Regions from separate parts of the Homo sapiens genome. Here regions 1 and 3 are each linked to region 2. The links are contacts of gene promoters, found by promoter capture Hi-C in blood cells and fetal thymus (Javierre and others, 2016). All regions are on one chromosome and are shown on one strand. The core of a region is centred on a gene start or on the middle of the fragment in contact, and the rest is flanking DNA. Distances in the headings are between cores, read along the strand shown.

Evidence for each region. The method cuts DNA at HindIII sites, captures the fragments that hold promoters and counts their contacts. A CHiCAGO score of 5 or more calls a contact.
Region 1: a contact is called between a fragment that was not itself captured here and the fragment with the promoter of TPRG1L in region 2, in 3 of 17 cell types (neutrophils, naive CD4 T cells and non-activated CD4 T cells). The highest score is 11.4, in neutrophils.
Region 3: a contact is called between a fragment that was not itself captured here and the fragment with the promoter of TPRG1L in region 2, in 13 of 17 cell types (neutrophils, naive CD4 T cells, naive CD8 T cells and 10 more). The highest score is 12.7, in neutrophils.

What each region holds. Positions count from the first base shown.
Region 1 is chr1:3,522,735-3,525,434 of GRCh38, forward strand. MEGF6 (multiple EGF like domains 6) reads right to left here. Exons shown (of 37, transcript NM_001409.4): 5 at 1,390-1,512. Among named protein-coding and RNA genes, the nearest start is that of MIR551A, 37 kb to the right of the region's middle. RefSeq lists an enhancer at 425-964. The HindIII fragment of the contact is 4,070 bases long and covers 1-2,700 here.
Region 2 is chr1:3,623,682-3,626,381 of GRCh38, forward strand. It overlaps TPRG1L (tumor protein p63 regulated 1 like), which reads left to right and starts at 1,334. Exons shown (of 5, transcript NM_182752.4): 1 at 1,334-1,592; 2 at 1,743-1,834; 3 at 2,032-2,208. The coding sequence starts at 1,392. It also overlaps a transcript of MEGF6 not described here. RefSeq lists enhancers at 608-727, 1,708-2,370 and a silencer at 1,178-1,407. The HindIII fragment of the contact is 13,719 bases long and covers 1-2,700 here.
Region 3 is chr1:3,505,685-3,508,384 of GRCh38, forward strand. It overlaps MEGF6 (multiple EGF like domains 6), which reads right to left. Exons shown (of 37, transcript NM_001409.4): 14 at 2,111-2,239; 15 at 424-552. Among named protein-coding and RNA genes, the nearest start is that of ARHGEF16, 52 kb to the left of the region's middle. The HindIII fragment of the contact is 736 bases long and covers 883-1,618 here.

The sequences.
Region 1 (2,700 bases), core at 175-2,674, 100 kb before region 2:
GCCAGGAGAAGGGATTAGAGGCCAGGAGAGGCCCCACTGGGCTGACACCTGGGCTGCCCTTCTACAAGGAATACCCTGCCTGAGAGGAGGGTCGAGAAAAGGACGTGCCCCCCAAGAGCTGCCTCTTCCAGGGGGCCTGAGGGGACCAGGGGGTGCAAGGCTAAAGTGCCCCAGGCTCCCAGAAGCCCCGCAGGGCAGCGGGCTGGGGCCGCACCCCCGTCTCCGTTGTCCGGAAGCACATCACAACATTCCTGCATCTGTTTCTACTTTCAGACCCAGGGAAACTTTACAGAGCGGCTGCCTGGATCCCCATGGTGGCCGGGACATGTGAGTGTGTGCCGGGGGGGGGGCCCCAGGGCTGGCGAGCTGCTCTGCCACATCACAGGCAGGACCGGGAGGGAGGCTGCTCAGAGCCGGCTTGGGCCCTGCTCCGGGCCTCCAAGGCAGGAAGAAGGGGCGTCCTGACGCCCATCACCCAGAGAATGACCCCCCATGCCTCCCAGACAGAGACCAGCAAGAGGGTCAGTCCCGTCCTTGCTTGGGGCGCCTGTGCCCAGAGCCAGCCAGGAGCAGGGGTGCCGAAGGGTGAGGGTGGCTGACTGGCTACTTACTCTTCACCCCAGATTCCTGGGCTCCAGCCCCCTGCTCAGCCCTGTGCCGGTTCCTAGAGGCCTGGCACCTCCCCTGCTTCCCTCTAACCCTCCCTCCCTGCGGCCACAGTCCGTGTCCGCGACACCTCCTCCAGCCCATTCCAATAGCCAAGAGACCCCGCAGAGGAAGCTGAGGGACAGGGTCCCGCTTCTTCGTCACCCCTACCCTACCTGCCACAGCCCACACCCTCCAGGCTCCCCAAGCTGGGCAGGGATCACCTGGGCCCACAAAGCCTGGCTCTGCGGGCGAAGGGTGTCCTCACGCAGCCCCTGCCCTGACCAGGCCTCCTCGGCCAGCGTCCCCCACCACGTAGCACGTGACCCAGGTCTCCCTCAAATCAAATGTAGGGGACATCACAACCAGGCCAGGTCCCTGCTGATAACCACGGCAGCTTCTGTTGTAGAGAATCTTTAATAGGATCTCCACCCACGGGCTCACTCCCCTGTCCACTGGGAGGGGCCTCAGCATCACAGCGGGGCTTAGTGTGGCTGCAGAGGGTCTGCAGCCAGGGTCCTGGGGACCTGGCAACTTGGCATTCAGTCCTTTTACCGGCCTGAGCCTGGGGCAAGGTGCGGGCAGGATTCCATAGAGCCATGCTCCGCAGGAAGGAGCCACTGCCAGAGCGGCCTCTGCCTCTCCATGTCCACAGCCACCCTCTCAGGCCAGGCCTGGGCACACCCCAGAGGGTAGGGATGGCTGAAGCCAGGAGCCCAGGCAGGGTCTCCAGGCGACACTCACCCAGGCAGGTCCTGCTGTCAGTGTGGAGCCGGAAGCCGGGCTTGCACTCACAGAGGTAGGAGCCTGGGGTGTTCACGCACCGGTGCTGGCAGCCACCGTTGTGGGTTCGGCATTCGTCCACATCTGAGCAGGAATGGGGAAGGATCAGCAGCTGGGCACCTGTGCCCTCCTGCTTTGCCAACACAGCCCCCCAGGTGCCGGGGGCCCAGACCCAGGTCCCTCCCGTGCCTCGAGGGCACCACCCATGAGCCCCTCACCCACATCTGCCGGAGACGCAGCAGAAGAGACAGGGTCTGTGCTTCCACCTTGGACACCTGCTCGAGAAGGAAGAGCCACCGCCTCGAGGGCCGGCCAGAAGGTGGGGAGTAGCAGAGGGCTCCAAGGACAGGCTGGGCCTCTAGCGCCTTTCAAGACTGAACCGGGAGCGCACGCGGTTTTCTTAAGTCCAAATCTACAAAGTGCTTCCTGGGCGGTGTCAACCGCTCCACCAGGACCCACAAGCCCAAAAAGAGAAACTGACAGCTTTTGAGACGGCCATGCCCAGGCTGTGGGGGGAAGCCTGAGAAAGGGGAGGGCGTGCTGGCTTCAAGAGTGTCCCCGCAGTTCATGGCCATCTGGAGCCTTCCAGTGAGGCCTTGTCTGGAAACAGGGTCTTGGCAGCTGTCCTAAGTTCAGGCTCGAGATGAGATTGTTCCGGATGAGGGTGAGCCCTAAATCCAATGCGCCTATCCCAACAAGAGACACACAGAGAGGGCCATGTGGAGACCAGGCAGATTGTGGTGACGAGGCTACGGGCTAAGGACGGCCAGAAGGAAGAGGCCAGGAAGGTCCTCTCTATGGGTTCATAGGGAGCGTGGCCCCGCGGACACCTTGGGTTCAGAATCCTGGCCTCCAGATGGCGACAGAAGAAACTTCTATAGTTTGTAGCCACCCCGTTTGCGGTGTTTGTTCCAGCAGCCCTGGGAAACCAATGCAGCTGGGGTCAGCCTGGGCCCCCCACACCCACAGGCTCCCCGTGCAAGGACCCAGAAGGCCACCATATCCCAGGACAGAAGCCTTCGCTGTGCCGGCACCCTCCCCCATGAAGTGCCACCCGCCATCCCAGAGCAGCCCAGACCCCGTCAGACCCTCCCTGCCCAAGGGCCAGCTTGGTTTAGAACCACGTGTCCTCAGGTTCCAGACTTAGCTGATGCCCCACTCAAAGGCGGTAGAGGGGAGTAGGAGAGCAGGAAGGGGTCGAGAGCAGCCTGGTCCTGAGGCCTCTCCCCGCATCTGCGCTGCCTGGACTTCCACAGCCTGGGGACCAGCCAA
Region 2 (2,700 bases), core at 84-2,583:
GACTCCAGGGGTATTGGGTCTTTCTGCCAGCGCCCATGCAACTTTGGCAGCCTGGCCTGTCTGCTGGCAAGTGGGGCAGAATCCCTGCACTCCACCATTCTTGGGCAACACTCCCTCTAGGATTTTGGCCTCCCTTTTCTCTCTGGTCTTTGACCACCGCTACCCAGCAAACTCCTCCATCTAGACCAGCCAGCATTGGTTTCTTCCACTCCCCCAGCTGCCGCGTGGGAGGCGCCACTGCAAACTTCCCTGGGGTCTCCCAGCTGCTCAGAGATCCCCATGCCCTTCCCTGATCAGCTCCCTGCCCGGTTCTCATCCCGGCGATTCTAAACCGTCCATCTTTACAAATACTCCGCTCCATCCCCACTCCCTGACTGAAGTAAACAGATGTATCCTGAACTCCTCATTCTCCCCCCATCTCACTCTCCTCGCCTGTGTGCACCTCGCCTCGTGTGTCTTCCTCACCTCCGAGCAGAGGGATCTGTCCTCCTGCCCGAAGGTAACCCTGACCCCTGGACTCTGCGCCTCCTTCCCGCAGCCTCCACCAGATTGCGGGTCCGTTCACCGCCCCCCTCCACACGCGCTGGGGGCACCTCCGGGAGCTGGGGCTAGCGCAGGGCACACACATGTTCCACCTCGAACTGCGAGCGCTGACCGGGATCTCTGGGCAGCCCTCTCTGTGTGCACTGGCTTGCTGAAGGCTCGCGACAGCCTGGGCCCGGGCGCGCATTCCAGCACTTTCTACCCTCCGGCTTCAGAGTGCATTGCTCTGTGGATCCGTCACGAATAAGCCGTGTGTGAAGAACGCCAGGTCCCGGCAGAAGATCGCTGCCCGGCGTGCGAACTCCCCCACGGTGCACCAGGGCCGCCGCCCTGCATCCTCCAACCTCAGCTCCCCGGCACCGCGACCCTCCGTGCAGTGCGAGCCCCCGATGGGCGCGCGCCCCCACCTGCGCTCCAGAAGGCCGAAGGGGGCATCCCACTTGCAGGGCGGGTCACCCGCTTTCCCCGCGGGCCAAGGGGCTCCAAGATTCCCAGCCCCTCCTTCCCAGCCGCTCCGCGACACCCTGGCAACCGGCTTCGGCCCCGCCCCTTCTCGTTGTGTAAACAGGAAGTGAGCCTGCGCGTGACGGTCGCTTCCGGCCCGGCGAGGGGCGGGAGCGATTGTGAACGGCGGCGGGGCAGAGCCAATCGCGGAAAACGGCAGGAGGAGAGCCAATCCCGAGGGTCGGCGGACGCGGGAAGGGGCGGAGCCAGAGGCGGGGCCGGCAAGGCGGAGCCAATCGCGGCGGTCCGCGGGGCGGGGCCGGGGGCGCGGCCGGGTGGTGGCGGTGGCTGCGGCGACGGCGGTCGCGTCGGCGTCAGGGTCGGGGTCGGTAAGGGGTGCGGCAATGCTGCAACTGCGGGACTCGGTGGACTCGGCCGGTACGAGCCCCACGGCGGTGCTGGCGGCCGGCGAGGAGGTGGGGGCAGGCGGCGGCCCGGGCGGGGGGCGGCCGGGGGCGGGGACGCCGCTGCGCCAGACACTCTGGCCTCTCAGCATCCACGACCCCACGCGCCGCGCCCGCGTCAAGGAGTACTTCGTGTTCCGGGTGAGGCAGGGGCCAGGGCCGGGGCGGGGGCCGAGGGCGCGGGGCGGGATGGGGGCGGGTGGGGTCGGAGGCGGGCGCCGGGCGGTCCCGCAGGGAGCGAGCTGTGACCTGTGATCTTTGCCCCCGTCCCCCACCCCGCAACCCGCCCAGCCCGGCAGCATCGAGCAGGCAGTGGAGGAGATCCGCGTGGTGGTGCGGCCCGTGGAGGACGGCGAGATCCAGGGAGTGTGGCTGCTTACCGAGTAAGCCGGGGCTGCGCTCTCCTTGGTGGGGGGACTCGCCCCGAGCCGCCGCGCAGCACCTTGCGAGGACTTCCCGGGGTGCTCGTGCCACGCTCAGGCGCCCCGTGCCGCCCCTGCTGCCCTTCCAGGCGGGCTGGCCTTGGCTAAGTCGAGACAGCCGCGTCCAGTGTGGACTGAGGCCCCTCCTCTGCCTACAGGGTGGATCACTGGAACAATGAGAAGGAGCGGCTGGTGCTGGTCACGGAGCAGTCCCTGCTTATCTGTAAATACGACTTCATCAGTCTCCAGTGCCAGCAGGTGGTGCGGATAGCGCTCAACGCAGTAGACACCATTTCCTACGGAGAATTCCAGTTTCCCCCTAAATCGCTCAACAAGTAAGCCTGTTCAGAGTCCAGTATCACTGGACCTAAGCACCAGAGTGGACCTTACAATTCAGCCCTTTTAAATCAGCCCCCCAAGCGGTGTGTCTTCTCTGTCATTAATTATAAGCACAAAGGCTCCAGCTCCAAATATCAATGGGAAGTTCCTTAAAAAGAAGCGACTTCTGGGCAATTGAGTGCATTAAAAGGAATTCTGGCACAGAAGGCAGCTATTAGGCTGGTAGTAAAAAGACTTACATGAGTTCAGGATGCATTGAAGTAGAGCCCAGCGTGTTAAAAAGGAACTTGGATGTTCTTCAGGAAAAGTCCAAACTCTGCATTTTTCTCCAGCCAGGGACAGATTGCATATGACACATCAAGTCTTGCTCTGGCTAATTTTTTAAAGAGAAATGGAGGGTCCCGTTGTAATTTATAGATACCACTAAAAGACAAATTTGGAAATATTTAATGACCAGCTTTCAGGAGTTGATCTTTTTGCTGTAGGAT
Region 3 (2,700 bases), core at 1-2,500, 120 kb before region 2:
CCCCTGCAGCCCACCGCCCCTTCCCTGAGTGTCTGAACCCCAGGGATGGGTGACCCCACCAGGGACTCAGAGCTTGGCCTTGCTGCCAGGAATCTCCAAAAGCCAAGATAGGCCTCATCCCCCGGAGGCTTCTGCAAAAGGCCTGGCCCTGCCCTCATCTGCAGCCCTACCACCCATCAAGGCTGGGAGGCACAAGGTTGGGGACCATCCACCCAGACGCCCTGGATGCCAGCACAGTCACAGTCGAGAGGATGTGGCTTGGAGTCCACAGACTCATGGCGGACCCCAGACCTACATCCCAGTGGGTGACCTGGCTGGGCCCCGATAGCCTCATCCTAACCCAGACTACAGGTAACAGGACATGGACCATCCCTTCCACCCGCTGCCACCACCATGGACACTGGAAGGGGCAGTGAGACTCACTGAGGTGGCAGAAGCGGCCGTAGAGCCCTGGGTCGCAGAGGCAGGCCCCGTAGAGGCGGTGGCACCGGCCCCGGTTGGCACAGTTGCATTTCTTGCGACAGTGCTTGCCATAGTAGCCCTTGGGGCAGCCTGGGGGCAGCGGGGCTCCATGTGAACCTTGGTGGCAGCCAGCCTACCACATGTGGTCCCCCCATGTGGTAGGATGCGCGGGGGCCCAGGGCCCAGCACAGGAGCTGGGAGCAGCCCCCGCCAGGGCACTAGGTGAGCCTTCCGGATGTGGCCGTCTGCCCTGGCTGGTCTGTCCCCTACATCCCCTGCCCCCAGGGTTTGTGGCAAGGGCGGGTGGAAGAGCACATTCCTCGGCCCACACTGGAGAGATGCACAAAGCTCACGCCCCACTCTCCCCAAAGTCTGGCCCCCATCAGGAGCCGCCTGACTTCTGTCCCCTGGTGGTCACTAAGCTTGATCTCAGAGCCTCAAAGCGGGAAGGACACGTGGCCCCAGTAGACAAGGTCCCAGGCCCAAGCCGCAGGTGGCCCCAGAGCTAGAAAGGTCCTCGCCTTTCTTCCCCAAACAATTCTCTCTGGCTGGGTCCTGCCCCACGTCCTTCCTCCTACTGAAGGCGGTAGTCAGCTGAAGGTACCCCCACAACTACATACACGTCCTAGTCCCCAGGACCTGGAGACTAGGCACAGTTGCATTTCTTGCAACAGTGCTTGCCATAGTAGCCCTACATTATCCAGGCTGGCCCTGAATCCAAAGACAAACATCCTCATCTGAGAGGCAGGCGGAAGCCGAGACAGAAAGAGGAGGCCTGGAGAAGGGGAGGTGACCCCTCAACGCTGCAGGCAGCCTGGAGGGTACAGCACGATCCCAGGGGTGCAGCACCCAGGAATGAATACGGGGGTTCCCCAGCACCCTGTAGAATAGAAAGGGCAGACAAAGTGGGGAAGGGAGGCACACTGACAGGGAAGAGGTAGGAAGCCCTGTGTGGCTGCCTGGGGTCCCCACCACCACCAGGCAACCAGCCCTGCAGAGCCCAGCACATACGGCCAGGAAAGCTCACGGGGCCACCTGGGGGACAGGTTCTAGGGTTGGCTGTCTTCCTCTCACAAAGGCAGAAAGTTTATGATACGTTAGCTGCACTCTCCATCGAAAGAGGCAGAAATGATGAAGTCTGAAGACTTAAAGATGAAGCTTTAGCCACCTGGGAAACATTTTCTGGACTAATTCCTCCAGAAAGGCTGAAACTTCAGAGTTAATAAGGGAGCCAACATCATCCCTTGCAGCCACTGGCCCCCAAGTAATCCCTTCTGCAAACCTCACCCAGCCATCACCAGCTCTACTTGAATGCTTCCAGGAACAGGGACCTCACTGCCTCTCAAGGGAACCCATTCCAAAAGTGCTGCTCTGTAGTCTTATCGTCTGCTACAGTTAGGCCCTGGGAAAATTAGCAACAGTGAAAAAGCAATACCCCTCTCATTCAAGGGCCTCATTCTCTCTCAAGCACAGCCTAAAGCTCTGGAGACAGGGAGGCAGGAAGGAAAGGGAGTCTAGGAAAAGTTTGGTAGCAGTTTCCCTGCTCCAGTGGGAGGAAGGAGACAAGGAGGACGTGGAGGGGTGGTGTCTCCCACTTCCCTTACAGCCCAGGGGTAATTCCAGAAGCACCAGAAGAGGCTGCACGCACCATCCTCACAGTTAGTTCCACTGACACCCGGGGGGCAGCGGCAGGCCCCCGTGACAGAGTCGCAGGTCCCACCATTCTGACAGCTGCAGGAGAAGCTGCAGTTCTTCCCAAAGGTGTCCGGAGGACAAGCTACAAAGAATGACAGGGAAGCGTCAGGGTCACCAGCCAGCACGACACTCTGAGACCCCTTCCTAGGGTTGGAGGCTTGGGTTTAGAAGCAGTTGCCTAGAGATAAAATGATGGCACTTGTACCACATCACCCCTGCCCATGCTCATGGCAGACATCACTAATTGATCACTGACTCCTCTCTCTGAACACCAGCAGAGAGAGGAGTCTCCTCCTTCTGAACCAGCTCTTTCAAACAGGCAGAGCCTCACTGACAGTTATGACGGGTCCCTGGCCATCTGAGCTAGAGGAACCCCACCTGCCGGCTGCCCTTCAGCAGACACCCCTCACTGTCTTAGTTATTTGCTGGCTTGCTTGTTGCTGGACCGTGAAGACTGATATTTAGGAAGGACAAACACTTTAACTTGCTTGTTCCCAGGGAATCCTTACTGCCTGGAACAGTGCGTGGCATAGAGTGGACAGT